Regions from separate parts of the Homo sapiens genome. Here region 2 is linked to region 1. Evidence: promoter capture Hi-C in 16 types of primary human blood cells and fetal thymus (Javierre and others, 2016). All regions are on one chromosome and are shown on one strand. The core of a region is centred on a gene start or on the middle of the fragment in contact, and the rest is flanking DNA. Distances in the headings are between cores, read along the strand shown.

What was found. Contacts are between HindIII fragments. The CHiCAGO score rates a contact against its expected background, and 5 or more counts as called.
Region 2: a contact is called between a fragment that was not itself captured here and the fragment with the promoter of IPO13 in region 1, in 1 of 17 cell types (fetal thymus). The highest score is 5.5, in fetal thymus.

What each region holds. Positions count from the first base shown.
Region 1 is chr1:43,945,505-43,948,204 of GRCh38, forward strand. It overlaps IPO13 (importin 13), which reads left to right and starts at 1,446. Exons shown (of 20, transcript NM_014652.4): 1 at 1,446-2,180. The coding sequence starts at 2,097. It overlaps LOC101929609 (a long non-coding RNA gene), which reads right to left and starts at 1,095. Exons shown (of 2, transcript NR_188535.1): 1 at 977-1,095. RefSeq lists a silencer at 1,242-1,491. The HindIII fragment of the contact is 8,694 bases long and covers 1-2,700 here.
Region 2 is chr1:43,165,465-43,168,164 of GRCh38, forward strand. EBNA1BP2 (EBNA1 binding protein 2) reads right to left here. Exons shown (of 9, transcript NM_006824.3): 6 at 1,696-1,771; 7 at 1,362-1,455. Among named protein-coding and RNA genes, the nearest start is that of MIR6733, 4.9 kb to the right of the region's middle. The HindIII fragment of the contact is 3,482 bases long and covers 1-2,700 here.

The DNA.
Region 1 (2,700 bases), core at 196-2,695:
ATAGCTGGGACTACAGGTGCCTGCCACCATGCCCGGCTAATTTTTTGTATTTTTAGTAGAGACGGGGTTTCACCGTGTTAGCCAGGATGGTCTCGATCTCCTGACCTCGTGATCCGCCCGCCTCAGCCTCCCATAGTGCTGGGATTACAGGCGTGAGCCACCGCGCCCGGCCTACTTGCTATTCTTTATTGATGAAGACTTGCTGAATGACTTAGAGTCCTACTGGATTTTGCTTACCAGCTAAATGGGCCCCTCTCCTTCCCAGGCTCTCTATTCTTCAAGCTCAGATCAAGTTTCTCTTCTCAGGGAAGCCTTCATGGACCTTCTCAGGCCTCAGCAGCTGCTGCCAATGCCAGCTTCCAATGCCAGCTTCCTCCATTTGAACAAAACTACGGAGCTCTTTGCACTTTTAATTTTTTCCTCTTCCCTGCTAGGGTAGCTGGCAGGAGTTAATAAACAATAAAATACAACTGGAGGGGTGACAGGCAGGAACTACCGGGGCCTGTGGCAGACCAGATCTATGGCATGGTCTGCCACCCTGTCTGTGTGCCAGGGGCAAGATAAGCCTAACTTTCCCCAAGCTCGATTTCCTCATCTCATCTGAAAATGATGAATAAAAATATCCACCTCAGAGCTATTAAGAAAACTGAACCTAAGGTAAGCAAAGTCCTGCTCCTAGCACTTAAATGTAAGCTACTCTTACTCTAGTTACACATAAAGTTACTTCCAAAAACCTTACGAAATTCCCCGAGCACTGTCCATGGTATGTGGTTTCCCGGTTGCTTATTGGGTGGTCCCGAGAGCCTTCCTTTTTTCCTTCCTGAGGCGTGCCAAGTCCCCTCTCCTCTTCTCTGGGTGGTGCTGACGCCTTCTTCCCAGGCTGCACCTTTGCTGGGCCGGAGGATGCCCCCGGCAGCGGAGCGCCAGAGTGACCAGGCAACCTCCCCAGCCTCCACCCTCTAGCCCGGGCTCCCACCTCCGTCCTCCGGCCCCTCGAGTCACGTCGTCCTACTAAGGAGTTGGGCCGCAGCGCCCCGCGCCGGTCTGACCCGGAATGCCTGCTCGCCGCGGTAGGCCGAGGACAGGCGGGGCTCTGCAGGTCCCCAACCCACGTGCTCCCGGCCTCCTCCGCAGGGCGCCGCCTTCCGGCTAGGCGCAACACGGACTACATTTCCCAGGGTGAACAGCGGCGGGGCCTAGACTCGGCCGCGGCCTGGGGCGGCGAGCCGCTCCACCGCCTGCTCAGGGGAGTGCGAGCTGGCGCGAGGACAGGGCTAAGGACCCGGAATGAGTTTCCGCGCAGTTCCGCTGGGCCGTGCCGGCCTGTACCGGGCCGTGCCGAGCCAGAACTGGCAGGAGTGGGGGCCTGAGTTGGAGGTGCCGGGGACAGGCGCTCGGGGCAGCCCGCGCCTTGCCGAGGTCCCTGCCCCGTCCCGGCCGGCCTGGCTTGTCTTGTCAGTCACTGGGGCGGAGGCAGCGGCTGTAGCGGGGCTGTAGCCGGGCGTTGAGCACAGCGCGGGCCAGGCCGAACGGAAGGGACCTGCCACAGCCCCTCAACTCCACGGACTCTTCGCCCTAGACTAGCGGAGCTGCATCTCCGCGCTTCGTTGGACGCCTCCGTAACCACGAAGGGCTCTCTCTCTCCCGTGACCCTCCAGCCCCATGACCTGTTCATAGCAGCCGAGAGCTCACCCAGGCGGGGGTGTTGTGGGTACAGGCCATCGACCCTGTGACCCCTCAAGAGCCAGGGACTCGGTTTCCCCCGCAGGCCTCCCTCCCCTGTGACTCCCTCCACACAGATTCTGGGGACAGAGCTGTTACCTGCCACTAGGATCCCCGCCTGAGAGCTCCTCACTGACGGCTCCCTCCTCGGAGTCCCCTTCATTGGGTCTCCTAAGAGCACCAATTTTGGTCTCTGGCAAGCCTCCCACCCCCAAACGAGGTGGGGAGGCCTCGGCAGCCATGCCCGCCCTGGGCCCCCCCTCACCCCACCACTCCCTGGGCACCCAAGCCGGGGTCTAGCAGGGGGCCAGCAGCCAAGGGGCTGGGGCAGGAGACAGATCAGGGCCCACCTCCCTGCCAGGGAGGGAGCAAAGATGGAGCGGCGGGAGGAGCAGCCGGGGGCTGCAGGGGCTGGAGCAGCACCAGCCTTGGACTTCACTGTGGAGAACGTGGAGAAGGTATGAGGGCTCTGGGGTGGGCACTCCAGTGACAGAGCAGAAGTTCTGGGGACTGTCACTGATGGCAGAGCTCAGGCCTGGGCTGGGTGCCCGCTGGTATGGTGCCCCCAGAGCACCTGGCATTTGCTCTCTTTCTGGGCAGGCAGTATTGCAGTGCCCTAATGGGCTATTTTTGTCTTTCCTTACAGGCAGGTCCCCTGTGGATAGATACTCTAGGGTCTTGGGATGGTCCCTTCAGGGTGCTGTGACTTAGCCTTCCGTCCAGACTGGCTATGTTCCAGCTCCATGGGAACTGCATGAGCAGTGCAGTAGGAAACTGGGAACCCAGGAGACCTGCAGCTCAGTCTCCTGGAATTATACTGATGCCAAACCATCCTGGACCTGGTTTTGTTGAGCCAAGGGCTCAGAAAATAATCTGGAACTAAAACAATCTGGGTTGTTTTGACTCTTTGGAGAAGGGTCCTTCCTTTATTGGATGGAAGCCAGACCAGTCCTGAGCAGGCAGGCCTGGGGCTGTCTC
Region 2 (2,700 bases), core at 109-2,608, 780 kb before region 1:
CAATTCAATTACTGAGTCCTGCTCATTTCACCTCTTAAATGTTTCTTCAATCCTTATCTCGACTTTTGCAATAGTACCCTTGTCAATTTCCCAGCTTCCCTCAAGTCTGTCACTTATACAAAATCCACTGTGATCTTTTTAAAAACATGAATATAACCTGCTCATTACTGTTAGTACAACCTACAACCTAGTCTCTCCACTGCCTTCTGACAAAGCCCAAGCTCCTCAACAAGGCAAACCCACAGCCCAGGTCCCCCCAAACACATTGCACCCCTCCTTGCTTTGCACTGTATTCCCAGTGACACCAAGGGCTTACTGTTCCTCACAAAACCCTGAGGTTTCACATCTCGATGGCTTTGCTCGTTCAAGCTCTTACTTCTTCCCAAACCCAGCTTCTCTTCTATTCTCGTGGTTAATTCCTACTCATGCTTCAAGCAATGCTCAAGTCGAACGCTCCTCCAGAAATCCACCCCAGACCCTGTCAGGTATTTATAAAAGCTGACTCAGTACTAATCCCCAAATGCCTCTATCATAGCACTTACTATCTTACATGGAAATTATCATTTCCCCTAGGCCTGGTATCCAGGTATGCAAAAAAGCAGACTAGAAAAAACAATGAGAGCCCACATTCTCTCTTTCAGTCTTCATACTATGAGGCAGACACTATTTCCTCAACTTAGCAGATGAGGCAATTAGCATTTAGAAAGGCATGGTAACTCGTTCAAAACTGCCCTCCTACTGAGTGGTAGAGTCGGGATCTGAACCCTAGGTCTGAACTCTCAACCATCGCACTGTGTGATGGGGAATCAACTTTACTCAGCATTCACTTAAAGGGTGCCACATACTTAAAAGTACCTTCTTAGGATGGGTGCAGTGGTTCACACCTATAATCCCAGCACTTTGGGAGGCTGAGGTGAGTGAATCACTTGAGGCCAGGAGTTCACAACCAGCCTGGCCAACATGGTGAAACCCTGTCTCTACTACAAATACAAAAATTAGCTGGGTGTGATGGCAGGCACCTGTAGTTCCAGCTACTCAGGAGGCTGAGGCACAGAATTACTTGAGCCCAGGTGGCAGAGGTTGCAGTGAGCCAAGACTGTACCAGTGCACTGTAGCCTGAGTGACAGAATGAGACTGTCCAAAAAAAAAAGAAGTTTAAAAAGTGCCTTCTTTTACTCTTCAAAGACTGACATGGCTAAAAGGGCCCATCACACAGTCATAGGGGTCCTGGCCCCAGGCAGCAGCTGCACTCTCTGGACTCTATGGCTGCGCCGGTGGAGGTGCTATGTCTGCCATACTCGTGACCTGTGGCCCCATCGCACCTCACAGAACCAAAGAAACCATGCCAAAACCCTTCTCACCCCTTCCTCATCTGCTGGCCTTTGGCTCCTGCCTTCTTGCGCTGTGCCAGAGGTTTCTGATCTCCCTCAAGGAAATCCAGTTTATCAGAGAAGCCTGTAAGTGAAGAAGTAGTTTTGATCAGCACCATTGTATTTTAAGAATAAAAGTTTAAACCACCATATGAGGCTGTTATTTGCTACACTGATTTTAAGAGTCACATCCTGCTCTCCAACACCATTCCCAAAACTTTGATCCGACAGGTCCACATCAACCAAGAAGGCTCCAAAGCACTAAGTGTTCAAATCAACTCTAAAGTACCTGCTACCCTCGTTCCCCTATTAGAGATGTACCAACCTTTCTGATATTTCTTAATAGCATTCATCATATGGGCTTTCTCCTGCTGCCTCTTCTGAAGAACCTCCGTTTGCACCTGTGATATGAACACAAGGACCGTTACAGCCATTCCATACCATTACTCCAGTGTCTACATTGTCTTAATAGCAACACCATGATTAATACCACTACCCTCTGACATTTACTACGTGCCAAAAACTGTGTTAGGGACTCTAAGTATATTCTCAGATCTAGGTATATTCTTCATAGATGAAGATATATCTGTCTCATAACAATCCAGTGAAGTTGAAATTTGTGTTATCCCCTAAACTGAAGCACAGGGAAGTTAACTTGCCCAAGTCGCACAGTGAAAAAATGCACAGCCAAGATGACCCAGGCTGTTTGACTCCAAAGCCAGCACTCACCCTATTATACAATCCTGCCTACAAAACTGAAGTAAATCATGTTTAAGACTACATCGATTTTTCGCATCACATTTGGACAGATTAATTATCTAACTCACTGTTACTAGGCATGAAAGTACCAAAAGGAAGAGAAAAAAACAATGTCCCCAGGTAAAGAAAAGAAAAAAGTTTGAAGGATAAAAGGAGACACTTTATAATACTCTAACAGAGGGTTTCTCAATCTTGATACTGCTACAGTGTGGAGAGAATAATTCTTTGCTGGGGGGTAGGGGCCTGTCCTACACTGTAGGATATTTAGCGGCACCCCTGCCCTCTACCTACTAGATGCCAGTAGTACCCTCCCTCCCAAATTTGACAACTAAAAATATCTCCAGGCAGTCACAGAAAACTCTTGGGGAGCAAATTCACCCCCAGTTAACAAACTCTTCCCCAGTGTTTCCTTAAATTAGGAACAGTGAACTAATAGGCCCAAGTGAGTTTGTCTTTGCTTTTGGTAACTTTGGCTATGTTAAATTAATTACTGGTGTCTTTGAGAGAATCTCAGCCATCCACCTCCAGATCAAAGAAATAATAAATCCGCAGCAGGCCTTTTGTAGAGGAC